7 separate regions of the Homo sapiens genome follow, and regions 1, 2, 3, 4, 5 and 7 are each linked to region 6. The links are contacts of gene promoters, found by promoter capture Hi-C in human tissues and cell types (Jung and others, 2019). All regions are on one chromosome and are shown on one strand. Each heading gives the region's core, a stretch centred on a gene start or on the middle of the fragment in contact. The rest is flanking DNA. Distances are from core to core; before and after follow the strand shown. Region 1 overlaps LINC01894 (long intergenic non-protein coding RNA 1894). Region 2 has its middle 45 kb from the start of LINC01894. Region 3 overlaps LINC01894 (long intergenic non-protein coding RNA 1894). Region 4 has its middle 13 kb from the start of LINC01894. Region 5 has its middle 360 kb from the start of SS18. Region 6 holds the start of ZNF521 (zinc finger protein 521). Region 7 has its middle 310 kb from the start of ZNF521.

The links. The method cuts DNA at HindIII sites, captures the fragments that hold promoters and counts their contacts. A contact is called where the count stands out against the background at its distance.
Region 1: a contact is called between a fragment that was not itself captured here and the fragment with the promoter of ZNF521 in region 6, in 3 of the 25 tissues and cell types used here (H1 embryonic stem cells, mesendoderm cells and stomach).
Region 2: a fragment that was not itself captured here is called in contact with the fragment with the promoter of ZNF521 in region 6 in 1 of the 25 tissues and cell types used here (IMR-90 fibroblasts).
Region 3: a fragment that was not itself captured here is called in contact with the fragment with the promoter of ZNF521 in region 6 in 1 of the 25 tissues and cell types used here (small bowel).
Region 4: a contact is called between a fragment that was not itself captured here and the fragment with the promoter of ZNF521 in region 6, in 2 of the 25 tissues and cell types used here (H1 embryonic stem cells and lymphoblastoid cells).
Region 5: a contact is called between a fragment that was not itself captured here and the fragment with the promoter of ZNF521 in region 6, in 2 of the 25 tissues and cell types used here (H1 embryonic stem cells and mesenchymal stem cells).
Region 7: a contact is called between a fragment that was not itself captured here and the fragment with the promoter of ZNF521 in region 6, in 3 of the 25 tissues and cell types used here (lymphoblastoid cells, mesenchymal stem cells and mesendoderm cells).

What each region holds. Positions count from the first base shown.
Region 1 is chr18:24,961,107-24,963,806 of GRCh38, reverse strand. The region is part of intron 1 of LINC01894 (long intergenic non-protein coding RNA 1894); the gene reads left to right. Among named protein-coding and RNA genes, the nearest start is that of LINC01894, 26 kb to the left of the region's middle. The HindIII fragment of the contact is 4,376 bases long and covers 1-2,700 here.
Region 2 is chr18:25,031,717-25,034,416 of GRCh38, reverse strand. No RefSeq gene overlaps it. Among named protein-coding and RNA genes, the nearest start is that of LINC01894, 45 kb to the right of the region's middle. The HindIII fragment of the contact is 4,825 bases long and covers 1-2,700 here.
Region 3 is chr18:24,978,335-24,981,034 of GRCh38, reverse strand. The region is part of intron 1 of LINC01894 (long intergenic non-protein coding RNA 1894); the gene reads left to right. Among named protein-coding and RNA genes, the nearest start is that of LINC01894, 8.3 kb to the left of the region's middle. RefSeq lists an enhancer at 1,326-1,883. The HindIII fragment of the contact is 5,645 bases long and covers 1-2,700 here.
Region 4 is chr18:24,999,413-25,002,112 of GRCh38, reverse strand. No RefSeq gene overlaps it. Among named protein-coding and RNA genes, the nearest start is that of LINC01894, 13 kb to the right of the region's middle. The HindIII fragment of the contact is 4,541 bases long and covers 1-2,700 here.
Region 5 is chr18:25,727,647-25,730,346 of GRCh38, reverse strand. No RefSeq gene overlaps it. Among named protein-coding and RNA genes, the nearest start is that of SS18, 360 kb to the left of the region's middle. The HindIII fragment of the contact is 5,767 bases long and covers 1-2,700 here.
Region 6 is chr18:25,350,907-25,353,606 of GRCh38, reverse strand. ZNF521 (zinc finger protein 521) reads left to right here and starts at 1,441. Exons shown (of 8, transcript NM_015461.3): 1 at 1,441-1,602; 2 at 2,660-2,700. The coding sequence starts at 2,661. RefSeq lists a silencer at 1,346-1,415. The HindIII fragment of the contact is 6,455 bases long and covers 443-2,700 here.
Region 7 is chr18:25,665,391-25,668,090 of GRCh38, reverse strand. No RefSeq gene overlaps it. Among named protein-coding and RNA genes, the nearest start is that of ZNF521, 310 kb to the right of the region's middle. The HindIII fragment of the contact is 7,189 bases long and covers 1-2,700 here.

The sequences.
Region 1 (2,700 bases), core at 140-2,639, 390 kb after region 6:
TGGAAAGCTGGAAGAAGAAGGAATTCAAAACATATAGATAATATTCATGCAGAACAGTTCACCCATAAATGAAGAATTGAATATTTGTGGGAAATATTTTTTTGCTTCTGTGGAAAAGTGCCCAAATGCAGCTTGTCTTGTTATGGTTAGATGAGTCTTAGCCAAGGATCGGTCTTTGCCAACCATTTAGGACCAATCGAATGCAAATTTATCTGCGATTGAGCAAAACAGAATAAATAAAATAACCAAGCCCATTAGAAGGTACTTTCAAGAGATTGAATCATTAAAGAACAGTGCTGAGTTGACTAAAAAGTAGAGGAAATCATCCAAAATCAGTTTTCACTTAGATAGATGGAAACTAACTAAATAATTTAGCTTACTTGGAGATGACTTCATTAATTTGTTCATTCATTTAAGAAATATATACGTAAGTGTATATTATCTATATTATATATATTTATATTATATATATTATATATACACATAAGTGTATATCTATATTATATTATATTACATATATAATTATCTATTATCTATATTATATTACATATATAATATATAGTCCCAAAACTAAACTGCCTTTGTAAAACTAATTATATGTAATTATATATAATCATATATATAAATATATATTACATAGATTATATATTATATATGTAAAATTATATATATATTATCTATTGAGCACTTCTTATTTAGCCTCCCTTCCAGGCTCTGGGCACACAATGGTAAACAGCTAGACCAAGTTTGCCCTCATGGAGCTTATATCTAGTAGAGGAACTTACTTAATAAGGAAATGCTCAGTGGGTACCTATTAGTAAATGGACTGGATTCCACATGCAGGCTTGTAAAGCATACATCTCTCAGGAGACAGCCTCTCACCTCTCAAGCTGTTGTAGGAGAGAATATTTGTGTAAGAGCATTGCATGTGCTCTGAGCATTTGTGTGGGTGGCAGTGGTGTGCATACAGCAATAAGAAAGATCATATTCAGTCTCTACTTCTCTCTCAGTGGCATACATGGGATCTATTAGGTTGGTGCAAAAGTAATGGCAGAAACCACCATTACTTTTGCACCAACCTATAGACTACTAAGAAATGGGTTTGTAAAGCCATTAAGGCAGCTTTGTCGGTTGGCAAAACGGTTCTGGAGTGTGAGGGGCCCAAAGCACCTTCGCATAAGATTCTTCTCCAAATTCTAGACCTATTAAGAGATGGACACAGCTGGGTCTGGTGGCTTATGCCTGTAACCCCAGCACTTTGGGAGGCCAAGGCAGGCAGACTGATTGAGCTCAGGCATTCGAGACCAGCCTGCAACATGGCGAAATCTCATCTCTACAAAAAAATTAGCCGAGTGTGGAGTCACACACATGTAGTCCCATTTACCTGGGAGGTTGAGGTGGGAGAATCGCTTGAGCCTGGGAGGTCGAGGCTGCAGTGAGCCAAGATCGTGCCACTGCACTTGAGCCTGGTTGACAGAGTGAGATCTTGTCTCAAAAAAAAAAAAAAAAAAAGGGATGGACCAGAAATTAGGCAGATGGAGGGCCACATATGAGCTTTGTCTCTGATAAGGAGATTTTAAAGATTACAGAGTGCTTAGATGTGTGGCCACAATTGGGCTTCCTCACAGTTTCCTCTCTGAACTGAGCTTACCCACCTAGCTGCAGACTATTCCCTGTCACCACCAACGGGTAGAACCCACATAGTGAGCATGGTGCAAGGAGAAACAAAGAATCTCTATATCCTGAGGACAGGCCACTTTGAAAAAAAGAGGAGAGCCAAAAAGAACTGAAACGTGAATACCTAGCCCCTTCTTCCATCTTTAGCCTTTGGTAGACAGATTACATATGTAACAGGAACTCAGGAAAAATAGTCTAACCAAAATGTAGTATTGTTCTCACTGACACATGTTCCAGATGTAGACAGTCCAGAGTTAGCACTGCAGTGCCATCAGACCATAAGGGGTCCTAGTTCCCTTCGCCTTTCTGCTCCATCCTCCTTAATCTGTGTTCCTGTCTTCATGGACACAAGATGGCTGCTCCCCCTCCAGTCATCACATCTAGTCCTAGGCAGGAAAAAGGGGAAGAACCAAAGGCAAAAGCTGAAAAGGGACTTGTCAGTTGAGTTGTCCTCCTTTAGCAAGCTTTACCCCAAGCCCTATCTGGATGACCATTTACATCTCAATAGCCAGAACCAAAGCAAATCTACCCCTGGCTACAAGGAAGCCTAGGGAGGAGAAAATACTTTTTTGGTAACATTGGCACACTCAACAGAATCAGGGCTCTCCTACTAAGGAGGAAGAGGAGAACACATATTATACAAAAGGAGAATGTAACTGCATCTGGATGCCTTAGGGAGAATCCCTGGAAGGCAGAACCTATTTTGCCAGATTTCTGTTTAAGGACTGTACATTTCTTCCAATGGATGGGAAGTCAGAAATGTGAGATAAGCTTTACCCCAACAGATTGTCCCCCAACAGAAATGTGGGATAAGCTGCTCTTGTGACAGTGCTGTCCCTCTCTGGCACCCTATCATTTTGTGCTCCACTCACTCCTGCCCCAAATCCTTTCCTTTCACATTCACTGCCCCTGCCCCATTAGGTGCCTGTGTCTTGCTCCTTCTTCTGTGGCTCCCTTCCAGACAGCACCTCAACCCTGGGGACCTTCCCCACCCTCACTTCTCCCATTACGCTTTCACTTCAT
Region 2 (2,700 bases), core at 116-2,615, 320 kb after region 6:
TCACTATGGAATGTAAAGAAATTACCTTGGGTACATCTTTAAGGGTATAGAAAGGGAGTCAAGGAATTGTTAGACCTCACTTTGTCTCTAACGTCCAGGACTGGGTTAGGGATCCTGTCCAGGCTTGCCCGTGGTGCCCTGTGCTTCATTCCTGGTAACTCAGAAGCCTATTTGCCCAACTCTTCACTATCCTGAAGCCAGTGAATGGATAATTTGATGCAACAGCACAGGTTTAATAGCAGGTTGAAAGCATCTAAAAGAAACAGTAAGTGCAAAGTGATACCATCTGGTAGCTTATCCATGAGCACAAATCATCTCAGTTTTCAGAATTCACAGGAATAAGAGTACCTACTCTGTGCCAGAAACGTCCCAATTATTATTTAATCCTCACAACAACTGTAGAAGGATGGATTCTAATCTCCATTTACCAACAAGGAGACTGATGGTCAGCGTGGCCTCATCAATGTTTACAGAGGTAAGATTTAAAACCAGCTGTCTCCAGGCTGTGTTTCTCCCCTCCATGTTGTGGTTCTCTCTCTCTCCCCCCCCCCCCTCTCTCCCTCTCTCTCTCTCTCCCTCTCCCTCTCTCTCTCTCTCTCTCTCTCTCTCCCCCCCCTCTCTCCCTCTCCCCCCCTCTCTCTCTCCCTCTCTCTCTCTCCCTCTCTCTCTCTCCCTCTCTCTCTCTCCCTCTCCCTCTCTCTCTCTCTCCCCCCTCTCTCTCTCTCCCTCTCCCTCTCTCTCTCTCTCTCCCTCTCTCTCTCTCTCCCTCTCTCTCTCTCCCTCTCTCTCTCTCCCTCTCTCTCTCTCTCCCTCTCTCTCTCTCTCTCTCCCTCTCTCTCTCTCTCTCTCCCTCTCTCCCTCTCTCTCTCTCTCCCTCTCTCTCTCTCCCTCTCTCCCTCTCTCTCTCTCCCTGTCTCTCTTTGCTCTGTTACCCAGGCTGGAGTGCAGTGGCGCCATCTCAGCTCACTGCAACCTCTGCCTCCCGGGTTCAAGCAATTCTCATGCCTCAGTCCCCCGAGGAGCTCAGATTACAGGTGTGTGCCGCCACAGCTAATTTTTGTATTTTTAGTAGAGACAGAATTTCTTCATGTTGGCTGGGCTGCTCTTGAACTCCTGCCCAAAGTGCTGGGATTACAGGCATGAGCCACCGTGCCTGGCCGATGCTGTTTTCTTGAGAATGTACCTGCTGCTTCCCCTCCCTTCTCCTCTTCTTATCAGTCTCCTCTTCTGCCTCCTTCTTCATTTTAATTTTTGGTCTATTGGACATACTGCCTTTTATGAAAAGAGTATATGTCTCATAGGGATATCTTTAAATGATAGGTAAATATAGAACAGTCACACTCTTCATGTGAGGGGCTGATAGCCTAGCCATATAGATATTTTTATCTTATTCTTTAAATAAATTTGGTACTGGGTGGAAATAAGACAAAGAAAGAAGAAAATCTACCGCAGGAAATATGTAATCCCCAGGCAAAACCAACAATTCAAGGGGACTGTCTGGGGGTAGTTTATTCTGCAAATTGGTGCATTTCTCAGAGTTTCTGGGGAAGAGAAATAAAAGGTGTTATATTACCTAACTCCTTTCTGCAGTTTTGACTGGACAGATTTCCTTACTTCCTGCCTGAAATGGTTATGAGGTGTTGGCATGAAGAATGAGAGATCTATGATGTCTCCCATGCGAGGGCTGGGTGCTGCAGGGAGAGGCCAGAGGCTTTGCTCTGGGCTCCTGTAGCACTTGTCATTGTTAAAACATTCATGGATGAAAGGCTACCGTGCGTATAAATTATTATTATTATTGCAGTAACCGAGAGTGTATCATTACATCTACAGGGTGTCTGAAAGCCCTGAGAAACTGGAATTTGTGGTGAAAAGTGGCTTGCCAGAGTTTGAAAGCCTGTGAGGGACTTGGGGATCATCTGATGGAGACACTGGACAACCTTGCAGCTTGTGGCAGGTGCAGGAGTGTGTGTGTACGTGTGTGTACACATGCATACCTGCGTGTGCGCATATGTCTGTGTACATGCATACGTGTGTGTGTATGTGTGTGTGTGCATATATGTGAGTTCCTAAGACTAAATGGTACAGAGCATGAGGTCAGAATTGTGGAGAGGAAGATACAAATGGACTAACAGCATCCCTACCTCTTGAAATGCTCTGCTCTGGGCATTTAGGAAAAACGTAGTGGTCCAGGGGAGGGATTGTTAGATGGGCTTTTTGGGCTTAAAATCTTCAGTAGAAAAGTCAGTACATTGTCTAGCTATTTCAAAAGGAACAAAATAAACACTTCGCCACTAATCCCTCATACAAAGTCAAAGATAGGCTACTTTTGGCCTGAATCTATGCAAATGTTTTCTTTCAGACTTCCCTTCCACCCTGAGAAGGGAAGAGCTTGCAAGAAACCATGAAATGTCTGTGTTTTGTGTGTGATTTCAACCAAGAAGTGAGACCACTGTTGAAAGTCTTATTTAAATATAACCAATGTTGACAAATTTTGGTTACATATAGCCACGTGTCCCACTTTAATTATCTCCCCAAAGCAATCAAATAGAAAGCTCCTTTCAAGCCGATGAAAAAAGTGAACTAGGGTTGGTTTGGGATGAATTTATTGTCCTCTGCCTGCACATTGCCACGTAGGGTGCCCACTCTTTTCCCAAGGGCACAGAATGTTGGGAGAAGAGCCCAGGCCTTTCATCTCACTTC
Region 3 (2,700 bases), core at 111-2,610, 370 kb after region 6:
ACTGAGAGCAGAACTGTCTTCAAGGTTTCTGAGTCTATCTCAGCTTTAAATATCAGATCATGAGCACATGCATAGATTTAGAACTGACTGTTTTTAGGAGATTAGGACTTCTACCCATATGTTCCAGGGCCTGGGGTTGGGAATCCAGGTAACGACTATCTAGGGACCACAGTAGGCAAAAATGTCTGGGGTAAAGTAGTTGGCAGTCGTGGTCTTACAGTGATCCAGTCATCTCTCAGACCAGTGAGCATGGAAGACCGAGTTATTGCTTGGCAGACCTTGGATGGAAGTGGCTACCAAGAGATCAGGAGCTACTCAAGGGCAGGTGCCATGCTTTCCCCAAGGAACAAACACCAGTCCCAGTATACACTGTAAAGGTGTGTGCAGAACAGGGAGTGGGTTTTTAACATCAATTATACTTCAGAAAGGATGCAAATATATGCCCCTCTTGGGAATTCACAAGCCATATTCACTTATTGAAGTCTATGAGAAATCCTTCTGAAATAAAACCAAACTTCTTATGTTTATTTGGTCAAAGAACTTCCTCCTCCCTACCCCTTCATAACACCTCTTAGGTGCTCACAGAATTCTTCAGGAAGGGCTGACTTATTCATCTCTCTGTTTCTAGTGCCTGTCACCATGACCAGCACCGAGAAAGTGGCAATATGATCTGTTCCTTTATCCCACACATACGGATTGGGCCCCAGGCAATGTTCCAGGTCCTGGGGATATAGAAGTAAACTAAATAGATAGTTCCTGTCTAGTGAATCTGATGTTCTAGTCTGTTCCCTGTAATCTCAGTTTGATCAATGAGGTTCAACATCAACCCAATCCCTTAAAGTCCCTTTAAGTGAACTCGAGCCAGCCCAAGCCAAGCAGGTGAACTGCTGGTGGACATGACCCAGCAAAGGAGTCCCCAGCCACTCCTACAGGGTACTTCAGGCAGCAGACGACCCCGCTGCTAGGTGGCTTATGGGGATCCTGGGCATCATTGCATTCAACTGCATGAGCCCCCACAGCCTGCTGGTGTCTCTTCTGCTTTGCAGGGCGTCATGCTTTTGTCTGTCAATCCCAGCCCTGTGGCTGCCACAGCATGTGAATCTGAAGGAAAATCACTCATTTTCACTTTTTCTCAGTTTCCTAACATATAGCAAATAGGGATGATTAATAATATTCATCTCCCATTTCATATCCCCTTTGGGAGATAGCAACCTCTCTGTAACACATAATATAGTGCCTGGGCCCTCTGGGCATTCAAGACTATTTAAATTATTTCGTAAAAGCAAATTTCATTCCTTTTATTTCCTCCTTTTCAGCCTCTATATGTATTTTTTTTCCATAGGCAATGTTTCTCTTCTGGTTTTTGTTTTGTTTTCTGAGGGCAACGGCTGATGAAAGGAAACAATCACCCCATCCTCTGTGAAGCTGAAAATCCCCCAGTTTCTCCTTTGGTGCCCAGCGATACCACTGAGTGTCAGCATGCGTCTGTCTCCTTCACTCATTTTCCAAGGACCCTCTCCATGTTTTTAGTAATTGATTAGGGGCCCTGCAGAGGTCTCCTGCACCCCCTGTGGTCTGTTTCATTTGTGATGACCACACCTCCCTCACAACCCACTGAGATGTCAAAAGCTGCTATTCAGAGGCTGGCTGATCCATTGAAGTAGGTTTTGGCTGGGAAAAGTCCCCCTCACCTCTTCTCCCCGCCCCTCCCCACTGTCTGGATCTTCCTGAGGTCCTCTGGATCACCAGGAGCTTGGCAAGCAGGGAGCTCAAACTCAAAAGTGCTGGAACCACGGTGCAGGGTTTGTCTGGGCTCCCAGCCTCCTCACCCAGCACATGGAACCTTGCTGGGAAATATTCAGCATGTGCCTGTTACAGATTAGTTCTTCTCTTCCTCATGCTCCTTTTTTTGCCACACTGTTTAGGGATGGAGGTTCTCCTCAGCCTCTGGAATAAAGCCTATTTGCTTAGTATAATTCTACCCTCTCCTGGCTTTATGCTGGGTCCAATCACAGATTTTAATCAATAGCCACAAGTACCAGACTTTCTTATCTCTTCATTACTACTACATATCAGAACCCTATTTGCTTGTGTTCTTGAGAAAGACAGAGAAAGCGAGAAAGAGAGAGAGAGAAAGCGAGAGAGAGAGAGTATACTGACTCTGAGATCTTGAGAAACTAGCCCAATTAGAAGCTACCATAAATGGACTCTTAGGAGAAAGTTGTGCCTCTAAAAGTTCTAAGTAAGCTCTTCAAAGATGCCAGACAATCAGCAAATGTGTGATGACACAAATGAGTATGTGTAAAGCTGGTGAGACCTGCAATTGACATTGGGACAATGTCCTGGTCCTACTATAGTTACACAAGATGTTACCATTAGGGGAACCTGGGTGAACGGTCTATAGGACCGTTCTATATTATCATTGCCATTTCCTGCCAATCTATAATTACTTCAAAATAAATAGTTTTAAATATTGCATGGCGAGACTAAGCAAACATTTTGCTCCAGAAAAGTAGTTTAAAATTTGGGTGCTATTTATAGATCCTGCCCACTTTTTAATGACGATAAGACTACAGCACCCAAGCTTTTCTCAATAGACAACTTACTGCAGACCCACTAAGGTGGCAGGCACTGAGGATGTATATTTAGCATGGTTTTCACACATGTTGCTGAGAGTGGACATTGGATGAATGATTGGAT
Region 4 (2,700 bases), core at 108-2,607, 350 kb after region 6:
CATTAAAAACTAGAATCCATAGAGAACTATCCTGGGAAAATAATCAGTCAGAATGAAGAAAGAGAGACAAAGGAAACAAAAAGATCAGTGTGAAGATAATAGCTATGGAAATCAAACAATGAAGATTCAGCACATAGTTTGTGTGCCTACAGAAGTTAGAAATGATAAACAAACACAAAAAGAGGAATATACAGGTGGCGAAGGCTCACTGTAGCCAAATGGAAAGAATTTGTCAAACCCAAAGTGTCTCTGAGCAAATGTACAGAACTTTAAGGACGAAAAGAAAAATAATCCTTTAAGTCAGAATAGCACTGCTTAAGACTACAGTCAGATTACCTGGGTACAAGCTGCATTGCTGTGATATTAAGCAGGTAGTATGTAACTTACAAGATTATAATGAAGATGAAATACAAAAATGTTTGCAAACGTACTTAGCCTGTTATTTGGCACATAATAAGTACTTGGTAAATGCCATCTATTGTCACAAACATCCAGCCAGAGAAAATATGTAACCAACAATGGGAATCATCAGGCTAGTCCAGGATTCACATTAGCAGTATAGGAGAATTTTAAAAGGAAAGCTGTGGCCAAATATCCCATAAACCGTCAGGTTGTTATTCTTGTAAAGGCAAAAGAAAGGCATACTCACAAAAGCAAGAATTTGGGAAGTATATTACCAATGAACAATTCCTGGAAAAGGTCATTTGCACAAGTTTTCTAGCAATGAGAAAGATGAATAAAAAAGAATAGGAAGTTATGGTATAAAAGGACTGTGCATGTGGATTACTTAATTAATTTGTTCTTAACCCCTAGGAGATTCTGAGGAAGACATGGACCTTCTCAGAAGAAAGTGCACTCCAGATACCTGAAAATGTACATTCTACTTGGTGTTATTCAGAAATCTATGGAAATCAATCCATGGCCTACTTTGGAATCCATAGATCACAAATCCCATTTTAAACACAAATCTAAGTTTAAATAACTATGTTCATTGTGATTATAAAACAAAAATTAAATCTTAAATTTTTGATGGAATACATATATAATAAAAATAATATTTTAAATACAATAGATATGGACAAAACCTTCAAGGAAAGCAATACACCTAAATACACACGTGCACACACATACCAGGAAGCAAGGGGGTGAGTGGCAGGAAAAAAATGCATATTTTTTCTCATTTGTTCAGGGAATAGATTAAAAGATATGGCAATGTTTGGTAGGTTTAAGCAAGTATATAAAGATATAAAAGTAACATTTAGAAAAATTGGAGAAAAAGAATACATTCTAATGGTGAGAAAAAATAAATACAGAATATTACAGATAGATTAATTAAACACGGTAACATTTTAATAATCAGTGTATCTAGGCAGTGAGTATATGGCTGTTCGTTGCATATCATTCTGTCAACTTTTCTATATATTAAATTTTTTTCACAATAAAACCATGTGTGATGAGAAAAAGAAGCAAACTATGCAGTAAAGGCTAAAGAAGAAAAATCATAAAAGCTATTCTAGAATTGCTCTAATAAAATTTAAAAACAAATCTCAAACGGAGTAAGCTGAGTAATGTAGCTGTTTCCCTCTCACAATTCAAATACTCCTTAAAATAAAACCAGTAAGTCCAAATTACTCAGAAACATAATACTCATAAGGTGTGGCATCTAATCATCTAATCAAAAATTATAAGATAGAGATGAAGCAGGAAACTGTGACCCATAATGAAGAGAAAAAATTCAATCATAGAAACGGGTATAGAAATAACAGAGCTGGTGAAATTATCAGAAAATGATGTTTAAAACCACAAGTGTAAATATGTTCAAGGATTTAAAGGAAAACATGAAGAAATAAATAGAACATATGGAAAAAACAAAATAAAAATTCTAGAAATTAAGAAATACAACATATGAAAAGAAAGTGTTACTGGAATGAAACTTACCTCAAATTATATGCTACATAATAACATATCAACGGATTTGAAAACACAGCAATGGAAATTATGCAAAATGAAATGTAGAGACGAAAAGACTGAAAAACTTGAATAAAGACTCCGTGACCTGTAGGACAGTATCAAGTAGCATAACATACATGTAATTGGGATCCCAGAAGAAAAGAAATGAGAAAAGGACAGAAAATATATTTGAAAAAATGATGGCTAATCAAGAGCATCAGTGAACAACTACAGATAATATATTTAATGGAGAAGATCAAATATTTTCCTCCTAATGTTAAGAACACAGCAAAAAATCTGTTCTTACCCCATCTATTTTACATTGTACTGAGATCCTAGCCAGAGCAATAAGGCAAGAAAAAGAAAAGTAGAACTGTGTGAAGTTCTTTGAGATGTATCCCAGCAGTGAGATTGCTGGTTCATGGGGTTTACATACACATATTTTGACCAAATGTTAACAGAATGTTCTCCAAAATGTCTGCATTAGTCTCTACTACCCCCTATTGTGGTGGAAGCTTGCCCTATCACCATACACCTGCCAGCACCTGGCATTGTCCAGTCTTCCAATTTGTCCCAATGTGAGTGTGTAACGTCTATCACTGCCATTTAAATTTGCAGTTATCAAAATATACTACATTTGAGCATATCTTCATTTACTAGTCGCCTTTTAAGGTTCATTTTCTAGAAATTTCTTAGTCAATCTAACCCTTTCTCTATTGTGTTCCTGTCTTTTTCCTGTTGGTTTTTCAA
Region 5 (2,700 bases), core at 92-2,591, 380 kb before region 6:
TTTGTTGGAGTTCCCATTCCTTGGTCTGTGGTCTGGACTCTGCCTCCCAGTTATAAGCTGGGACAACCATAAGGCTCATCTTGTTTGTATCTTTTTTTTCCTCAGGGATCACAATTTTTCATTGTTTCTGTTCAACGTCTGAAAGTACTTATTTCATATATTTTGTTTCAATTTCTGTTGTTTATGGCAAGATGACAATTCTTGTAGCAATTAATCCTTCATGGAGGGAAGTGAAATTATATGTTACATTTTAAAATCTGTGGCAGATGCAGTTAGTTGTGGAAAAAATAACCTTTTCACTTTCCTCCATCTGTAACAGGACATTGTAACAGAATTCCTAAGAAGAGAGATATCAAATGTGAATGTGAGTTGGAAAACAGATCTCCCTGTCGAATATGGTAAAAAATAAGGCAACCAAAAACTAGTTACAGGACTCTTGAACTTCTCAACCATGTGATGGGTATATAGAAATATACAGCAGAGACTGAGAGAGGTTTTTTAGGAACATGTTTTGAGGGAGTCAGCTAATGCTATGCTGTGATCCCAATTTCACCAGGGTGAACGACAGAGGATATTCCCCTACTCATTTAGCCTGTGAGAGGGGCTTTTGTGATGTATTTTAGAACTTGATATTCATTTCCTGAAATTAAGGGATCTTGTGGGCCACCCAAGAAGTCTAAAGCATAAAAGAAGGGCTTAGTAGCTGTGAATGGATGAGCCAATGGAGAGGTGGCTGTTTGTAAGACCTGTTTTCTCAAAAATTGCCAGGGTACAGATTGCACGGGTACTTTTTATGGGCGGGGACGCTCATGAGGAAATGGAAATGAGGAAGGATTTCAACAATACTGAAATTTTGACTATATCATGGGACTGAGGATTCTAATTACAGGTAATCTGAGTGATGAGAAAAAGCTTCCTTCTCAAGTTTTTAATATGTTTAGGAGCAGAACTAGCACCAGGGAACAAATTCAAGAGATCAGTGGGAGGTAACATACCATTTCTGTTACCAATAGACCATACTTATTCTATACACTTTACCACAGAACCCCAAGTTTGTGAAGACTGTCAATGTACGTAGCCCTAAGGGGTGACTCAACCCCATTTCCCAGACATCCTCTTTTCCAGACTGCCTTCAAGATTGAGAGAGGTAGGGAGCAAGACTCAGGTCTGAACAATGAGAAGTAAAGATAAGTCTGCTTTGAAATTACTGGAAAATGATTGCTTCCTGATGAAAGAGGAAAATTTACCTCTTGCCTTTTTTCCTGCTTAGAATGTGATTGTGTTTAGAGCAGTGGCAGCCATTTTGAGACCCTGGGGCAACAGGCCTAAGGACAAAAGTTAGCATGCTGAGGCTGGCGGGCGATTGCAAGGTTGAATTCTTGGCACAGGAGTGGATTGGGCCTGGTAAATTCAACTGCCTTATGCAGAAGAGGGTTCAGAACAAATCTGAAGTCTCATGCTCAGTGACAGCAGCAGTGACGCTTTTTCTCCTGTTAGACCAGTTCAAGGCTTTGGGGTATGTTTCCTGGAAACTTCCCCACAAGCTCATTTTCTTTTCTTTCTTTCTTTCTTTTTTTTTTTGTTTGTTTTGTTTTGTTTTTTGAGATGGAGTCTTGCTCTGTCACCCAGGCTGGAGTGCAATCTTGGCTCACTGCAACCTCTGCCTCCTGGGTTCAAGCGATTCTCCTGTCTCAGCCTCTTGAGTAGCTGGCATTACAGACGCACAACACCCCGCCTGACTAATTGTTTTGTATTTTAGTAGAGACGGGGTTTCACCTTGTTGCCCAGTCTGGTCTCAAACTCCTGAGCTCCGGCAATCCACCCGCCTCGGGCTCCCAAAGTGCTAGGATTATAGGCGTAAGCCACCTCGCCTGGCAACTCATTTTCTACCTCTTTACCATTCTGTGAGCTACCCAGTATCCTGACAATAATGTTATTTTCTAATTGATCAGTAAGAGTCAACTTCTTTCCCTTGCAATTAAGAATCCTGACTGATGCAAAGCATGTAGAATTTCTCATAGTTTGGCCATTTGGGTCAGAAGTCAAGTGTTCTACCTGTGTTAAGAAGTCCTGTGACTCAGGACCAGAAACCTGGCTCACCTTCCTGGTGTGTAGGGGGTTAAGATGGCATACTAAATCAGCACAAGCAATAGTGTCAGGGAAGCCATCTTTTTAAGAAGTCTAAAGAGACAAGAAGTGATAAATGGCTCTTCTTCTTACTGTTTGGCTAATTTTGACTTTGTACCACTTACACATAGCTGTTGCCGTGGCCTCAAGTTCTAAATAAAGTGTTCTGTATGGCCAAAGCTATTTCCTCTTTCCCAGAGTAGCACATTGCACTGTGGAAGATAATCTTGCACGTTTGTATGGTAATAGGATTAACGTGGCCCTTGTGGTATTTGCCCACCTAGCAACTGTGACTTTGCCATACTTGTGAATTATACTTTTGCTTGTGAGTTTCTTTGTAAATCTTCCTTCTTAACAAGGTAGTAGAAATAGCTTAAGTGTCCTGACATTTGTGAGTGTGGAGCCCAGAGATGCTTTCTTGGAAGTTGGCCAGAAGTCAGATCATCACTGTCCGGGATGGTTGATGAGTGGCAGGGTTCAGATGGCCATGTGGTGGAGGATGAGAACAGGAAGGCCAGCACCAATGCACGCAGTAGGGGACACTTAGAGGGTAACTGAGCCCCCTCCTCAGAG
Region 6 (2,700 bases), core at 192-2,691:
AACAAAAGTTGCTTTATTTCACAGTCATGCAAAGTTAAATTTGACTACAACTATGATTTCACTTTAGGAATTACTGCAGATGGATTGAAAACTCATTTAATTATAATGAAGATATTGAAAAAAAACATACTGTATTTGCAGCTATCCACATGAGGGTCCAGGCAGTTTACAGGTTAGACTGGAAAAAATACAACTTCCTTAAAGCTTTGATGTCTTTGCATGGTGGCTTAATAGATAGCTGTACCTTAATTTTACAGAACGGAGAATTTTTAAAATCTGATTAAGAACAATAGTATTTGTACAAAATTCTGCCTGTTTTGTGTAATTAACCGTATTCTGAATCTCTTAATTTCCACCAAGACTTGTGAATCTAAGCTCTACTTGGTAGCCCTCTCAGGCATTTATAACTTGACAAGCGTGTCCAATCAATAAATAGCAACAACAATAATAATACTAAAACATCCTTTCCCTTAAGATAAGGTAAAAGAAGGAAACAGGTGATGGTTTCTTGTTTTGCGATGGGAGCAGGTGAAAAGTTAGAAAACAAAACTGCGAAAAGAAACAAAAATTCCCACCGACCTGCAGACATTTCAATTTATTTTAGAAACTATTTTCTTGTACACATATTCTTAAGTGCATATTTCCTTACCTCTTGCTTAAAGAAAAAATCAACAGAAAGCTTTATTTTCTGGACAAAGATCTATGTCAATTTGAGAATGTTAAAAAAGTGAACTCAAAGCTGTCTCTTTTGAATCACATTATGACATTCGTCAGCATCAATGACTTTCTCTAAACGAGAAAATAAAAAAAAAGTCCAAATAACTTGCCTTTATAAAGATTCCAAGTAAGAGAGACTTGGCAGGTCTGCGGTTGCCATAAAAAAGATTTCCCGAGTCCGGGCAACAACAGCAGACACACTTTTTTAAAGTCCGACAATGCAAAAGCCAAGCAATGAATTTCCCCCCTCCTTTCTTTTTCTTTTTCTTTTTCTTTTTTTTTTTTTTTTTTTTTGCCCCCTCAAGAACAAATTGTTGCCTCCTTTTACATCCATCCTACCAGAAGGGGGACCTTTCCACTTTCAGATGCTCCTCTGCTTTAATTTCTGAAGAGGAAAAAAAGCGAGCAGAAGAGCCCCGAGATCCGCCGTGGAGCTCTAATAACGCAGCTGCGGCGGCGGCGACGGCGGCGGCGCGGGGTGTGCGAGCGGCCGGGCGGGCGGCGCGAGGGGCGGCGGCGCAGGAGCGGGCGGGGCGCGCGGCGCGTGGGAGGCGGCGGCGGCGGCGGCGGCGGCGGGCGGGGCTCGGGGCGCTCGGCCGCCGCCTGGCTCCGGATCCGCGCGCCGCGGCCGGCGCCTCCAGTCCGGGTCTTGGCGGGCCCCCTCCTCCCTCCCGCTCCCCGCGCTCTCGCCTTTTAATCATGCCCCTCTGTCTGTGTGTGAGTGCAGGCAGGCTGACAATGATTTCCTCAGTGATTACGTACAGAGCGAGTCCCTGCGGGTTAGGGGCCCCCTCTGGAGCCATCCTGATGGCTTTGGGGGCCTTGCTTCCATTTTCCATTATTATGTGGACTACCGGAGCGACAGCGCAGTCCAAGACCTTGCAGGTTTGTGATGAGGAGGGAGCACACAGCACACTCCTTCTCCTCCTCCTGCTCCCGGCTCTCCTCCTCCTCCTCCTCCTGCTCTCGCCGCCGCTGCCGCCGCCGCTGCCGCCGCTGCTGCCGCCGCCGCTGCCGAGGCAGCCGTAGACTTTAGAGCCCCGGTCCAGCGCCAGCCGCCGGCGCCGCGCCCCCGCCCAGAGAGGGGCGCCCCGAGCCCGGGCCCCGCACACCCCCTGCACACAAGCAGCCCCGCACACCACCTGGGGGCCGTCGGCTCGGGTGCTTTGGCTTTTTCTTTTTGAAAGAAATTACTTTAGTGTGGGTTAAGAAAAAAAGGGTGGGGGGAAGGGAGAAAAAAAGTATTTTTTTCCCTTTGCTTATTTTCGTGGCCCGTTCGCATCTGCCTCGGATGGTGGGAGATTTTTCTTTCCAAGACCTTTTCATCGCCTTGCAGGGTCGATTTCCCCCCCTCGTCCCCCCAACTACAAAAGAGCACGACTCGCTTTGTAAACAAATCAGTGTTATTTGTTTTTTTCCGGTGGGGGGGGGGGCGGATTTGTTGAAAAGGAAAAGCGGTAAAGAAAAAAAAAATCACCCAGACGCTTTTCTTTTTATTAGTTTTTTTCTATTCGCATGAACTATGTGAATTTTGATTGAGGTGGAAATAGTAACGGATTTTCTCTTTTTAGTGTAGCTGACGGCTCTTCAAACATTGTCTTTGGGGTTTTTTTTTTAGCTTTTTTTCCCTCCTTTCCTTTTTTCTTTTTCCTTTTTTTTTTTTTTTCTTGGAGATTGGGGGTGGGGGTCGAAGGCTGGGAAAGTTTGGTGCAGCAGCCGCCGCCGCCGCCGCCGCCGTCGTGCAGAGCGCGGAGCTCGGGCAGCCGCGAGCCCCGCGCGCGAGCGCGAGCCGGAGCCGGAGCGAGGAGCGGAGCGCGGAGCGAGGGCGCGAGGGAGGCCGAGCGGAGGGCGCGAGGCGCCGCGGCCCGAGGGGCGCGCGGCCACGAGGAAGTATAGTTTCTTTCAGGGCTGAATTGAAACAACTTCAGCTGTTTGCTTTTAGGATGTCTCGCCGCAAGCAAGCGAAACCGAGATCCCTCAAAG
Region 7 (2,700 bases), core at 30-2,529, 310 kb before region 6:
CTGATGCATATTACTATTTATTGAGCATTTCTTGTGTATCAGGCCTATGCTTAAGGAACAATTGTAAGAGACTTTACATATTGTATCTCTTTGAATTCCAGCAAGAGAAGTAGCTGGGAGGACAGAGTGCTATTACTCCTACTTTACAGATGGGGACCTGAACCTGGTGGGTGATGTGTTTGTCCTCTCTTAGCTGTTAGTGAGTGGTGCGCTGGGCTGTAAGTCAGGTCTCATCCCAGGACACAAGCCCTCAATGGCTGTGTTCTGTAGTCCCACTGACAGCAACCATCAGGATGGAAGGAGGGCAGCCTCCCCCTTTCCATGGCCTCCATTTTTAGCAACTCCCTTTTCTCATAAAGGAGTTTAACTCTCATTTCCTATTGCAGTGTAGCTGGCATTTTCTCTCTTTACACCACTTTGTCAAGACTATTCCATCTGTTCTTCCCATTCTGTGGGAAGGAGAGCTGTCTGGCAGTCGACCTTAGGTGCAGATGCAGGCAGGCAGGTGAGTGGGCATGTGGCATGTGGCCCAAGGAGGCTGTCACTAGGCAGCAGGAAGCCACAGGACTGGTGAGTGGGCAAATCTCCAAATGGACTCAGGGGCACAAGGACCTATTCCTAAGGGACCTGGGGCATCTAAGTGGGAACTAAAGCAGGAAATCAGGCATTGGAGAAAGTATTGGTCTCATTTCCGGAACTGGGGTAGATGATGTCCTGTACACAAAGAACAAGACAAAGCCCAGGACCAGTGTCCAAGCTCAGGCTGACTCGAGATGGAGCTAGTCCTTGGGATTTGTCCCAGAGTTAGTGGCAGGTGAAACTATACTGATCTAGGTATGAAGACATAAGGCCTTGGAAAGGGGTACTGGGAAGGGAGAATTCGGTTTAGATCTAAGAGGTGTTATATAAAGGAAGTTGGACAGTAGGCAGTGATTAAGAATGCCTTGAATCGTTCCCCCAAATCCTTCTCAGATGGTTTTGAAAATATGTTAAAGGTGGTGATTTGAATCAACCCATGTTCTTGTTTGGGGTCCATGCAATGTGTTAATTACCTAGGTTGCTTCTGAAGAGTGGTACTGCATTAACAGGTTAAATAATAACAAGTAGCTTGGATGCCTATTTGCAGAAAACATTTTTTCTTGTTGTGGTAGGAATCACTTTTCCAGTAGTAGTGAAAATTTGCATGTTTCTTATGATGCCCCTGTGGCCAAGTGATGGCTGGAGTGAGAAGTTTAGTCTGTGACAGTGAGACAAAAACCTTTCCTGATCCAATCATCTAGATAAGAACTTTTTTCTACTCTGATTTGGCCCAGTACTTTGTTTCTCTAACACGGCGAAAGTAAGCAGCAAACATCCGCAGAAAATGGTTGCTGATGGGCACGGCCCACATCTCCTTTAACAGGCTGTGGCAGTCATCTCCTAAGTTGCTACAAAGTTGGCTGTTAGGGACATTGAGCTCACTGCCCATGAAGCCTGTGGCCTGCAGCCATAAGCTGCCTGGAACCGGAGTACAAAGGGGACTGATTTTGTAGTACAAGTCCTGCTCCTGCTCCTGCTCCTTTTCCAGAGTTCCCTGTGGGATCAGACTACCTCACGCCCTTTCACCAAAGACCTCTCCCACCACTGATGAACCACAAGCACTCCAAGCCCTGTATCAAATGCTGCTGTGACAGAAGACATACAGATGTGGAAGATAAATGTGGTATATATGGGACAGTTGTTTGTTAACCTCTCTGGTGACCAAGCCATTTCCAAGTTGGTGCCAAAGTCACACAAACCTGACTTTAAGCCACTGTGATTTGATCTGAGGCATCAGTGGGTCCCTTCAAAAGGGCGGGTTGAAATGTGTTCACTTTCTGAACTCTCTTCCCTTGTGGACGTCACAATGTTAGAACATCAATAGGGATAATCATAATTGTTACATTTGATTTGATTTACTAAAACTGCTCAAAGCTGAATATAGACATTTAGCTATAATTCAGGAAAGTTACAAATTCAGGATTGTTGCTGTTCATGAGACATTTTTAAACCAAATTTTCAATGCAATGTGGTACAATAAATAAAGTTCAATATCAAAAAAAAAAAAGAAATTTGTTTACTTTCTATTTCATGAGTGAGGTTTTGAACAGACTTGATAAATAGCAAGAGGAGGAATTACCAGGAAGGCCAATAATAAGATGATAAGAATAATAGTTACCATTATTGAATACCTAATGTGATGGGTGCCAGGCAGTGTGCTACACGATCTATCTTCATAATCCTGTTTGCCTCTAAAATCACCCTGCTAGGGGATTGGGGAAGGGACTACAGCTGCCCACTCAGATGCCCAGCTGCTTCCATGGTCATGGACCTGGAGCGGGGCAACACCTCCCAGCTGGGTGGGACCCCACTGTGAAGTCCCTTTCCTCTTTCTGCCTGCTGCAACAAGGCTTAAACCAGGCAGACAAAGATAATGCTCTAAGTGAATCATGAAGAAATGTGCTGGGGAAAGCCTCACTGTCCAAAACAGGGGGGTAGCCAAGCTGACTTCCATTGTGGGTTACCCACGAAATGAGGACATTTCTATCTGGTTTGGACCATTGTGTTTTGGGGATCTCTTCATGACAGCAGTTTGTTCTTACTCTCTAACTAATATAGTAAATATCATTATCGTCACAAGATTGCACAGAGCAAGATCGACAGAGCTAAGATTTGGATGAA